2 separate regions of the Homo sapiens genome follow, and region 1 is linked to region 2. Evidence: promoter capture Hi-C in 16 types of primary human blood cells and fetal thymus (Javierre and others, 2016). All regions are on one chromosome and are shown on one strand. Each heading gives the region's core, a stretch centred on a gene start or on the middle of the fragment in contact. The rest is flanking DNA. Distances are from core to core; before and after follow the strand shown.

Evidence for each region. The method cuts DNA at HindIII sites, captures the fragments that hold promoters and counts their contacts. A CHiCAGO score of 5 or more calls a contact.
Region 1: a fragment that was not itself captured here is called in contact with the fragment with the promoter of CBLIF in region 2 in 1 of 17 cell types (erythroblasts); the score reaches 5.3 in erythroblasts.

Annotation. Positions count from the first base shown.
Region 1 is chr11:60,106,085-60,112,816 of GRCh38, forward strand. No RefSeq gene overlaps it. Among named protein-coding and RNA genes, the nearest start is that of MS4A2, 21 kb to the left of the region's middle. The HindIII fragment of the contact is 3,060 bases long and covers 2,372-5,431 here.
Region 2 is chr11:59,841,686-59,848,257 of GRCh38, forward strand. CBLIF (cobalamin binding intrinsic factor) reads right to left here and starts at 3,814. Exons shown (of 9, transcript NM_005142.3): 1 at 3,690-3,814; 2 at 2,194-2,370; 3 at 1,343-1,456; 4 at 758-898. The coding sequence starts at 3,768. The HindIII fragment of the contact is 3,325 bases long and covers 1,129-4,453 here.

The DNA of each region.
Region 1 (6,732 bases), core at 2,652-5,151, 260 kb after region 2:
AGTGGAAGATAAACCAAGTATATAATTTTTAAGAAATTGATCTTTTGTTTTAAATGTGGGGACCTTGGCAGTGGACTTTATAGTCCTTAGTGCCTTTTTACTGAGAAATTTCTTTTAGCACCTATTTTTATTAATTTTTAAACCAAAGAAAGCCAAATACCATTTTACTTTAACAATGCTTCTTGTATGATTTTTATACCAGATAAGCTAAATTTTATCTTTATATTAGGGTGTTATTAATGTTAAACCTAATTTTAATAAAACTTTGTAGACATCTTTATCTAATTTTTAATGTTTGACCAAAAGGTAAGATTTTATAGACTCTTTTTAATCTTTTATAATTTTTGCTAAAGAGCAGGTTGGTGCTTTAAGAAAAACCTGTTAGGCTTTTACTTTAATGTCCAGTTGACAGAAAAACTGGATGATACTTCTTTAATTTTAGCTAATATGGTTACACACAGAATTTTCTTTACATTTAACGTTTTAAAACTTGCTTAAACCTTCAATAATTTTTTTAACTTTTTAATGTAGGTAAAAATGTACATTTACTTTTCTTATACACCTTGCACATAAACTGTTTTTTTTTTTCAATAGTTTTACATTTAGGAGGCCTAGTTACTTTTAAATTATACAATATTTTTTGCATAAATGTTTTTTATAACATTTTTCTCTTCCATGACTTTCCACAGACAATTCTTTGACATGCCTCAACTTTCTCACTTATTACAAATATTTTTTTCTTTAAACAACCAGTTAATTTATTTCAGGACAAGAATTTACCATATAATACTCTTTTTATATAAATTTCACCCTTCCTTTTTTCTCCTTTTTTTTTTTTCCTTAGGATACTTCTGAACTGGTGAGGTGTGCTCACAATGAAGTTTTCTCTAAAAGTTTTTTTTTTTTTTAACCTTTTTTTTGTTGTTGTTGTTAGCAAAGCAGTTGCCACTACAGACTGAATGCATTTGGGCCATCTGCGGGTTACTGAGTTAAGGATTTTTGATAGGAAGGACTCAGTGCTTTTGGGATATGTCCTTGTTTACAGTGACAACAAGGTGGTATTGGAGTGTTATAGGGTTACAGAGAATACCTTCAATGATCAATTATAGGTTTTAAATTTACCTTGTCTTTTAAAGGAATAGGGTACACTTTTTTTTCTTAACTACTTGTATATCTCTTTCTTTTTTTTTCTCTTTGACTTTGTCTCTTTCTCTTTGACTTTCCTTTTGCCTCTGTCTCTTCTTTTTCTCTGCCTCTCTTTTTCTCTGTCTCCTTGACTCCTTCTTTTTCTGTCTATTCCTCTCTCTCTTTGCCTCTTTTCCTCTCTGTCTCTTTCCTTTCTCTCTCTCTGCTGGTCTTTCCTTGCCTCTGCCAGCCGCTTATGCTGCTGTTTTCTCAACCACTGTGTGTTGAGGGGCAGGGGGTCTAAAACTAGCTGTAACTAAGTGTCTCTGTACGGGAACTGGTCTGGTTTCCTTGTGCCATACCTTTGAAATAAGGGACCTGTCCAGGCTTCTTTCTAATGGCCCACCTACCTCTACTGCTGGCCAGTCTATCTCACACAAAGTTTCAAGTTTTCCTAGTGTCATAGTACTCTATAGTCTCCTTTAAAATCCTTTTTGAAAGTTTTCAACATAGTTCCTAGTAGGGTGGTCTTATTTGTGCCTGAACTATGCTTCTTCCAGACAAAACACTGCGCTCACACCACATGCACACCACAAAACAAAGAACGGGTAAAAAGGGCATACACACACTTTTGCAGTTTGCACTAAACCAAAATCAAAACTAAAATTAGAGTATCCAGAAATCCAAGCCAGGTCAAAACTAAAACCAAAGTATCAAGCAATCCAAGTCAAGTCAAAAACAGAAACTGAAGTGCCAGTACAAGCACACCACGGGTGATCAGGCCATGCTTCTACTCAAATGGAGTGGGCAAGTTCCTAAGACCAGTCCTGTCAAGCAATTCAAACCAAGTCAAAACTAAAACCAAAGTGCTGATAAAGGCACAACGTGGGTGATCAGGCCACGCTTCTACTCAAATGGAGTGGGCAAGATCCTAAGACTGGTCCTGTCAAGCAATTCAAACCAAAACCAAAGTGCCAATAAAGGCATGCCATGGGTGATCAGATCACGCTTCTACTCAAGTGGAGTGGGCAAGTTTCAAAGATTAGTCTTACAAAGTTTTAGATGTCCAGACTCCAAGTGCCCGTTCCTTCCCGGTGTTCAGCCACTGCATTGATCCTCCACGGGGACCTGCCACACATTGCTCTGACGAGGCGTCCCACCGGGGCAGATGCCTACCCAAGGGTACTCTCAGGATCCACGTAGCTCGGGCTGGTTGGAGTCCCCCACAGGGATGTTCCACAGGGCAAGCTTGAGCTGCCTGGACCATCCACCAATCACCTCGCTTCCTGGTCAGGGAACCAAGAAATGTAGCAGGACAAGCCTCAGACAAAAGTCCTCAGACACCCAGTTAAAAAAGGAAGGGGTTTATTCAGCCAGGGGCTTTGGCAAGACTCCCGTCTCAAGAGCCGAGCTCCCTGAGTGAGCAATTCCTGCGCCTTTTAAGGGCTCACAACTCTAAGGGGGTGCGCAGTGAGAGGGTTGTGATTGATTGAGCAAGCATGGGGTATGTGACTGGGGGCTGCATGCACTGGTAATTAGATCAGAACAAAACAGGATAGGGATTTGCACAGTGCTTTTTTATACAATGTCTGTAATCTATAGATAACTGATTAGGTCAAGGGTCAGTTTTAACTACCAGGCCTAGGGTGTGGCGCCGGGCTGTCTGCTTGTGAATTTCATTTCTGCCTTTTAGTTTTTACTTCTTTTTTCTCTGGAGGCAGAAATTGGGCATAAGACAATATGAGGGTTGGTCTCCTCCTTTAGGCAGATCACGAGCTCAGGAGTTCAAGACCAGCCTGGCCAACATAGTGAAACCCTGCCTCTACTAAAAATACAAAAATTAGCCAGGTGTGGTGTCATGTGCCTGTAGTCCCAGCTGCTTGGGAGGCTGAGGCAGGAGAATCACTTGAACCTGGGAGGCAGAGGTTGCAGTGAGCTGAGATGGTGCCATTGCACTCCAGCCTGAGTGACAGAGTGAGACTCCGTCCCTCCACCCCCCGAAAAAAAGAAAGAAAGTGAATAAAGCCAAACTTACTTGAATTTCCATTATGTCTCCAGCCTTCTGCTGAAAGCCTAACTTGTGTTACTTCATTTTAATCCATGAAACAAACTCTTGAGGTAAGCAATACCCTTTTTTAAAGCTGTAAGCGTCTTTACATAACAAAAATAAGAACAATTTGCCCAAGGCCACTTAGCCACGAGAATATAGACCTGGGATTTAAACCCAGCCTGGCTTGACTTTAGTATCTGTGCTCTTCCTACTTGGCTTAAACTGTCTGTCTTAGCCATGGGAGGTGTGAAATTAATGAATACTATCTTCCAAATGATTACGTATTTGTTCTTGAGATAGAAAACATGGAGCATTAATTGGTGGTGCAGTTCTATGTAGCTATCTCTACATAACCATTTTTTTTTTAAACCTAGACACAAGAAATAACTTCTTTACACCTCACACTCCAGACCCTGGAAATCACCTATTTCCAGGTCTCTGGTATCACCTGATATCTTGGGCTCATCTTCTATTAGAGTTTGTAGCTTTAGGAAGATGTCTACTTCTTTTAGAATTCCTCTCTGAAGGGAGGATGATACTCTGAATATGGAGTATCACACTTGATTATCTTAGGTTTTATTACAGAATAAAGACTCTTGCTTCCAGAGGTGTTATGGCCTGAATTGTGTTCCCCTCAAAGTTTATATGTTGAAGTCCTAAGCGCCAGGACCTCAGAATGTGACATATTTGGAGACAGGTTCTTTAAAGAGTAGTTAAATTGAAATGAGATATTCAGGGTGGACCCTAACTCAATATGAGTAATATTCTTATAAGAAGAGGAGTTCAGGACACAGACATGTACAGAAGGAAGACTATGTGAAGACAAAAAGAAAACAGCCATTTATAAGCCAATAAGAGAGGCCTGGAACAGATCCTTCCCTTACAGTCCTCAGAAGAAACCAACCCTGCTAAAGCCTTGATTTTAGGCTTGCTATAGCCTCCAGAACTATGAAAAAATAAATTTTTATTGTTTAAGCCACCCAGTCTGTGGTACTTTGTTATCGCAGTCGTAGCAAACTAATATAAATAGGATGAAAATTAGCAGTCTGAGAAACACCAAAATTCCCAGTTAAGGATAACCAAGACATTTGGAATTATGTTGTCTCCTCAAAGCAAAATGCAGCAATTTCTCAAGGAGAATTTAAAATCCCAGGTGATACATGAGCCTCAGACCCACAGGTATCTCTCTCCTCTTCAGATAAATCTAAAGGGAGAATAACGAAAAAAGATTGACCATACTAATTGACAAGATTGAAAATAAATGCATGGCCAGGCATGGTGGCTCACTCCTGTAATCCCAGCATTTTGGGAGGCCGAGGAGGGCAGATGACCTAAGGTTGGGAGTTCAAGACCAGCCTGACCAACATGGTGAAACCCCATCTCTACTAAAAATACAAAATTAGCTGGGCTTGATGGAGCATGCCTGTAATCCCAGCTACTTGGGAGGCTGAGGCAGGCGAACCGCTTGAACCCAGTGAGCCGATCACGCCATTGCACTCCACCCTGGGCAACAAGAGTGAAACTCCATCTCAAAATAAATAAATAAATAAAATAAAAATAAAAAATAAATGCATGCCATTGTATCTGTAGAGACTTTGAGGAGGACAGAGCAGGCTTGGGTTCCACATTCATGGGGGAAGGAGGGGCAGTGGTTGGGAAAGGTGTACCTGAAGATATGTGTGTGGAGAAATATAGGACTCTGTTATGGCAGTGTTTTCCAAACTTGTCTGACCACAATGTCTAAAACAAACATATTAAATCAGAATTGCCAAAAGAGTGAGCCTGTTGAGGGGGATAAAGCAACTCCTTGGCTGCTAATTCACCATGTTTGTAACCAGCAAAAAGGGTCTGGCTGCTCACTGAACTTCTTTCTTAAGGAATGACGTTAAAATAATAATGCATTATGATAAGAAAGAAGGATATTCCTTTATTATCCGTGCTAGGTAAGGGGAAGAGTACAGAGCAATTCAACTCTTCGATTTGTGGAGGGTAAGCAGGGTTTTTTAAAGGAAGGGTTTGGAATACAGAAGAGAGAAGGGGCTAAGAGGTGCCAGGTGGCATGACTTGCTCCGATGTCTCATCTTGAATTATTTTGTCTCATTTGGTGAAGGGGTTGGCACCATCGTGGATCCTGCCAGGTTATAAATTAGTTGCAGTACGTCTTATAGTCACCTGGAGTGGATTCCATCCTTGAAGTAATCTTTTACTGGAGAAAATTCTGGAAGTGCCTGGTGCCTATAAGGATCTGACCCATGAAGCTTCCAAGGAAAGGCAGGACCGGATAAGAGAGCATGGTGTGTGCTTAACAAGCATGTAGGTAAATAAATATGCATAAGGCATGGGAGCATAGTATGGGAAATGAAAGGGAGTGGAGGTTCACAGCACATTTTGAGCCTGGATTTAAAGATGAGAGGTAACACATATGCAGTTTGTCTCAAAGTTATATCTTCAGACTGGGATGGGAAAGAGGAAAGAAAAGAAAAAACATTTAAAATGCAGCTTGAGCCTATGTTGTTGGGCTGCTAGGCTGCTTGGTTGCATGTTGACTTCTGATTGACCCCTGTTCTGGGAATGCCTCTAAGATTTCTACTTTATCTACTGTTACTATAAATCCTGCCTTGAAGGAGACTTACACAGTGTTCTTGCCTTTCCCTGGTGAATCGACTTCAATTGTCCTATTGTTACCAATCACAGGTTCTTAGACTCTCATGTAATAGAAAGTGGCATGAGGCCCAACAAGTTTCCCAGTCAAGGCCTTTATTAAGGGCTTGTGTTGGAACAAAAGGGAGCCAGCACTGGAGTTAAAGGTTTCATGCTGTCTCCCTAAAGGCTGTGCATTGTGGTGCCTTAATACATTTATGCCTCATGCTCCATTATTGGAATGCTAAGAGTGTGGGAGTTTTTCGTATCCTATTGCTCAAGGTCATCACCAAGGTCTGATTGCAAAAATTCAAAAAATTGCAACCTCAGGCATAAGCGGGTTAAGGAGAGTGACATGCATAATTCATGAGATAGGTGAGTATCACCACATGTGTGGGATGCAGTGCAGGGTGCATGAATCTAGTAAGGAGTAATGCTAACACATACATGACATGATTAGAAAATGGCAAATAAGGCTCTCCCTGGGTAGGGATTTTAGTATTATAATGAGGCAAAGGTAAAGACCAGTCATCCTTCTGGTGTTGTGCACATGAGGGTGATAGGGTTAACTTCTTTGAGTGAAATCTATTTTGGAAGGCCATTTGTTTTAGCTTTTCAAAGGTCCTCCAATCAGAGGACCTTGCATGAAATGTATGGGACAGGGTCGGAGCATGGCTTATCTTGGCTTGTAAGGTTTTTCCATCAAGAGGGCTGCTCTAGAAGAAGTGAGAGTGCAAGGTCTTGTCAATGAAAAGATATCTTGTCAACTGCAAAATATTTTAAATTTGTTCTGAGCCAAGTATGAGAACCAATGATCCATGACACAGCCTCCCAGGGGGTCTTGAGAACATGTGCCCAAGGTGATTGGGATACAGCTTGGTTTTATATCTTTTGGGGAGGCATATGACATCAGGCAA
Region 2 (6,572 bases), core at 2,564-5,063:
CCTAGAGCAGTGGTTCACCTGTTTGTCTGACAGAAACTGAAACAAGAGAGGTTGCTGATGGGGCATGCATAAGGGAGTGAAAACCTGAGATAATACTATTGCTTAGAGAGTTGGCAGAGGAGAAAAGGTGATCATGAATGCGGGCTGTGACAGTGGCCCCCACAGAGAAGGATCATTATCCATAGAAGGGGACAGAAGGAGGACATGATGTTGTAGAGGGAAAAGCTTCTATTCACAAGCAGCCATATGCTTGCAGAACAAAGACGCAAGGTGGTCCCCGAGTTGCCATGAAGGGAAATATCACGAGTTAGGGTTCCGAGAGTAGCTGTTTAATGGAGAGAGGATATTTGGATGTAATGAGGAGAAGCATCGAAAAGAATGGAGTGTGGGAGCATCAGTAGTGATTAAAGAGAGGATGCAGAGGAGAACTGAAGCAAGACATTCATATTTAATTTGGGAAGAACTTCTGACTTGAATGGCATTACTATTGTTCCCAGCGGAGATTCTGTAGCTGCCAGACATATCAAGTATTATCAATTGTCCTTGTTTCTACATAATACTACCCCCTCTTCCTTCACTTACTCCTCAATTCACCTGCCCAACAAACATCTGGTAAATATCTCCCATCCACAGGCACGTTCACATCCTTAGCTCCTCCTCCATGGGACGCTCTCCTTTGTCACTTCCCTGCCAGCTCCACCATTCAGTTCACGATGCCTCTGATGTTCCCAGCTCGGGGTAGTGGTGACCTACTCACCTACATTGAAGGGAGAGGAGTTGGCCAGCAGGGTCTTGGCAAAGCGGACGGCTATCGGCAAGGTCGCCTCAGAGTTCTTCTGGCACAGTGCCAAGATCGCTAGACTGGGCCCATAGAAGGCTGATGCTTCAGCGTTGGGGCCTCCGAAGGGGATAGAGAACCTTCATCAGACTCACAGTCACCACGATGAGGACATTTGCAAAGAAGGAAAAGCCAAGCCTTTGAAAAGGAAATTGCTAGAAAACCTGCCCCCAAAGAGAGACACAGCATAGGCAAAGAGCAACTTCAGTGTTTTTCAAAAGAATGTCATCAGGCATCTGCAAAGAATAAAAGGGATGACTCTGTGTCTTTAGACAGGTGATGGCTGGACAAGCTTGTGTCCTTGGGATCATGACCTTTTCTAGTTCATTTTGGATTGGAAATGAATCTTTCTGGTCTGGATTATCAGAAGGACCAGAGTGAAGGATACATTGTCTCTTCCCTAACTTGCCTTTCTCTCCACCCCCACCCTTTTCCTTTCTGGGTTTAAAATTCTTAGGTAAAACCATATGCCTGACTCTTTTCTCCCTTCCAGTCAGGTCTTACTGGAAGGTGCCCAGTTCTCCATTTGTCTTTGTAGAATGGATACTTTATCCCCAGGGTCTCGGCAGGAGGAGGTGAGGGCCATGATGGTGAGGCCGAGCTGCCCAATGGTTAGATCTGCAGAGAAGAGAACACAACGGTTAGACAGAGACATCCTCAGGGGACAGCTCTCCAGGAGCCAGTGATGAGTTCTCTGCTTTTTATCTAGAGCATTTTGACTTTTTAATAATATGAGCAGTTCTTTGATCTGTCTTTCCAAAGAAAAAAATATGGAAGAATACGTAAGGGAATATTTAATCTAGTGGCCTCTGTGTAACTTGATGACTCTAGTATTTGGTATTTGAGAATCCCTGGTATTTGATTAGAAAAGCAGCAAAATACTCATATAGATTTATATACAGAAATTTACAGTTGCAAAATAATTTAAACTTTATCTAACTTGAGCCTGCAGGCAGCTCCTGGGAGATAGGCAGAACAGAGATTTTATTATTATTATCATTGCTATTAGTAGTAGTAGGGTTATTGTTACTACAATCATCTGCAAGGTGAGGCTGAGCAGTATCCAGTGACTTGTCTCAGATCCCAGAGTTATGACGTGGCAGAGCCAGAACCAGAAGGCTGCTCTTTCGACGTCTAGTCCAGAGCTCTCCCTGCTTTACTGACCTCCTCCATGAATGCTCTGACTTCACACATGTTTCTTTCCAGGTACCTTCCAGGTATGTAAGGAAAGGTGTTTGGGTAGTTTATTTACAGTCAGAGGCAGCATTGGGGTGGGAAGGACGCTGAGTTGGAATCTGGAGGTGGTATGTGATGTGTGAGATTCAGGGAGAGTGCGAGCGGCTCAGATGTCTCACCGTTGTTGTCGCTGGACATGAGCTGGTAAGTCAGGAGCTTCTGGGCCTTCAAGTTGTAGGCTCCGGCCAGATTCATGGCAATCAGGATGCTGGGGTTTGGGTAGGCTGATGAAGTCACCGAGTTCTCCATGAGTACTTGTATTCCATTGACCAAGGGCTCCTGTGCTGAGGGAACGGCTGAGAAGAGGAAAGCCATTTACTCACCTTCTAACCCTCATTCCTTCTCAAAAACATTATCCCCGTGTCTTTGATGCTTTTTCTTTCTTTCTTTTTTTTTTGAGACAGTGTTACTCTTGTTGCCCAGGCTAGAGTGCAATGGCACGATCTCGGCTCACTGCAAACTCTGCCTCCCAGGTTCAAGTGATTCTCCTGCCTCAGCTTCCTGAGTAGCTGGGATTACAGGTGTGCACCACCACGCCAGGCTAATTTTTGTATTTTTAGTAGAGATGGGGTTTCACCATGTTGGCCAGGGTAGTCTCGAATTTCTGACCTCAGGTAATCCACCCTTCTTGGCCTCCCAAAGTGCTGGGATTACAGGCGTGAGCCACCTCGCCTGGCCATCTTTGATGCCTTTTAGGAGAACACTTGATTAGCATTAGTGTCCTAAGTCACTAAAGAGAAATGGAGAAAATGGTGAGATTTTACTTTTGAGGACAATTAGTTTCTACATCTTCTCAAATAATCCATATCCTTAAGAAAGTGATTTTTAAATTTAGTAACTTCAAGCAATATGGCTCATGACATTTCTCATAGTTTCTATCACTTTCCTGGAAATCACTGATTTCCTTGCATTCATTTTTTTCCTTACTCTTTCATGAAGAGTATTAAAGATTTGGGATATAATTTATCCTCAGTGAGTACCAAAATCTCTCACTAGTATGTAGTGGTGTCTGGTCACAATAGCCACTGAGTGTCTGTCTTTGTACCATCAACCATTATTCCTGCAGTAGTACTTCCATCTCTATTATTTTTATTTATTGATTTTTTGAGACAGGGTGCTGCTGTGTCATCTAGGCTGGAGTGCAGTGGTGTGATTATAGCTCACTGCAGCCTCGACCTCCTGGGCTCAAGCGATTCTCCTACCTCAGCTTTCTGAGTAGCTGGGACCACAGGTGCATGCCACTGCGCCCAGCTAATTTTTTATTTTTATTTATTTATTTTTTTTGTAGAGATGGAGTCTCACCATGTTGCCCAGGCTGGTCTTGAACTCTTGGGCTCAAGCAATCCTCCTGCTTCAGTCTCCCAAAGTGCTGGGATTACAGGTGTGAGCCACTGCACCTGGCCCCATCTCTCTTAATAAAAAACATATAGACTTGTCTCTCAAAGAACTTATGCTATTAAGTCAGGAAGGATGAACAGCACACAATCACACTCAGACTTACCCATTTTGGAATTCCTATAGTGATTGCTATTTTCAACCACTCAGTGTCAGAGGTCACAGCCCCTTCCCCAGGGCAACTGCTTCCCTGACCTCCTTGGAAAAACATCATACTCACAGCATGAACTCTGGGTCTGGGTACTAGTCCCAGCTGTAGCCCAGAGAAGGCTCAGGAGGTAGAGGGCAAACCAGGCCATCTCACTCTCTCGTCTATGTCTCTCATCCACAGGTACCGCGATTTGCAAGTGGAATATTTCTTTACCTTCTCTTATATGTGCTTCCCTTTGTTAAATAATCTGTCCCCAACCCAGCCTCTCCTAACTGCCCCTGTGCTGACCTCTCCTTTCCTGATACAAGTAAGTAAATTTTCATTTGCTTATCTAAGTTTACCGACTATAGACCCTCCAAGGTGTCTGAAGGTGACTTCTAGGTTGCACAGTCATATGAGAAACCTGGGGCTGGGTATGCAGTGAAGGCAATGTTGAGAAAATGTCCTTTACCAAAGGCCTGGGTCAGACATCAGGAAGTTTGGATAATGTGCTAGTATCAACAAGACCTCTTCTAGCCCTTATTGTATCCAATCAGTTACCAGGCTGCTTTTTAGTAACTACTTCACTGGGATTTAGGCCATTCATAGGCATCAGCTCATTTTATGATCCTAGACACCTGCTTTACAACATGTCCTTTTAGGCTCTCAGGCAGGGATCTGCCAGGTGACATCTGGCTTTGTGAAATTAATGATGTCTACCTGGACCTGGATTCTAGCCTAGACTCTTTGAAGTTGTTTGACTTTAGGCAAGAAATGGACCTCGGTTTCCCAGAAATGGTTTTGTTTGATTTCTCTTTCCTTATCTGGAGATAAAAGCCATCTCAAACACCCAAAGCTTTCAGATATTATCTTTTAAAGTAAGTAATTAGAAAATGTGAGATCCATTAAGAATACATATTTCAGATGTGTAGCTACATTATAATGCAAATTATACTTCTTTATAAGGGAGAACTGAAAATGGTATGTTGAAATTATAAAGAAAGGAGTTTTGTTTGTTTTTTTCCTGCATGTAAAGTAGCTCATTTTAAGGGGATATTCTCCAGTGGCGCCCATCTTAGCATAAAAGTCAAAGCCCTTTTCATGACCTATAAGACCTTAGAAGATCTGGCTCCTGGTTTCCTTTCTGACCTCAGCTCCAGGCGTTTTCCCCTTTGCTCACACCGCTCCCATCACACAGAACTTCTTGTGCCCCTTGAACACATCAGCTACCTTTGCACATGATGTCCCCCTCAGCCCAGGACCCTCTTCTTTTAAATAGCCTCATGGTGGCTTCCTCACATCCTTCATGTCTCTGCTCAGAGGTAAGCTTTTAGAGACGCCTTCCCAGGCCACCCTACATAAGATCCTACATCCTCACCTCCACTGACACCCCTCATGCCCCTCGCCTGCTATAACTCATTGCCCTCTGTCGCACTAAGTGTGTGGTTGTTTATCGTTTGTTTATCTCCCTACTAGAATGTCTGCTCCACGAGGGAGGGGCTTTGTCTCTTTGGCTCACTGCTCTATCCTTAGCCCTTACAACACTACCTAGCTCACAGTAGAAATAAAATACTTTTTGAATGAGTGAATTAATGAGCAAATGTAAGACATGGGTAATAAAGCATTTTTTCCCCCTTGGGAAACATGGGTGAGTTTTGTGAGATGAGAGCACAGGGTACATACTGGGGTGTGCTGGACAACTTCTAACATGGCCCTGTGTTTTCACCTCCCGGTATTCATGCCTTGTGTAGTCCTCTTCCCTAGAGTGTGGGCTGGCCTGGGGCCACATTCTATTATAATGAATATAATGCAGCAAAGGTGATGGGATGTGGTTGCAAAAGACCGATTTCCCTCTTGCTTGCCTTCTCTCTCTTGCCCTTCCTGCTCTCATGAAGGCAGCTGCTAAGTGTGAGCTGCCTTATGGAGAAGCCCACATATGGCCCCTGAGAGTAGCCTCCAGCCGATATTCAGGGAGAAAAGAACCCTTCCCCAGTGAGCTTTGAGATGAAGGCAGCCCCAGCTGACATCTTGATTGCAGCCCTGGGAGAGACCCTCCTAAGCCAGAGGACCCATGTAAACCCTCCCTGGACTCCTGACCCACAGAAACTGTGGGATAATAAATGTTGTCTTAGGCCCCTAAGTTTTAAAGTCACTTGTTATGCAGCAATATATATCCAATACATGGTACATGGTGGAAGATGAGGCTGGAAAGACAGTTGGCATCTACTTGGTGGACAGCCTTGCATGCTGTGTGAAGGAGTAGGAGGCAGAATAATGGCACTGCCCACACACCGCCAAATGCCCATGCCCTAATCCCTGGAACTTGTGAACATGTTACGTGGGTTATATGGCCAGGAAGAATTAAAGATGCACATGGAATTAAGGTGGCTAATGAGCTGACTTTAAGAGAGGAAGGTTAGCTTGGATCATCTGGGTGGGCTCAATGTCATCACAGAGGTCCTTGTTAGTGGCAGAGGAAGGCAAGAGCGTTAGAATCAGAAAAGCAAATGTGATGTTAGAGGCAGAAGTCAGAATGATGCAATTGCTGGCTTTGTAGGTGGACAGGGGCCATGAGCCATGCAACGTGGGCAGCCTCCAGAAGCTGGAAAAGGCAAGGAAATGGATTCTTCTTCACAAGCTCTGTTACTAGGGGAGCCCTACGGAAATAGCTGGGAGGGCTTCTTATTTTCTTAAACTGTTGTTTTCCCTTAGCCTTTTTTTTTTTTTTAAGATTGTCCCTGTTCCTTTTTTTTCTTTTTTTTTTAATTATACTTTAAGTTTTAGGGTACATGTGCACAATGTGCAGGTTAGTTACATGTGTATACATGTGCCATGCTGGCGTGCTGCACCCGTTAACTCATCATTTAGCATTAGGTATATCTCCTAATGCTATCCCTCCCCCATCCCCCCACCCCACAACAGTCCCCAGAGTGTGATGTTCCCCTTCCTGTGTCCATGTGTTCTCATTGTTCA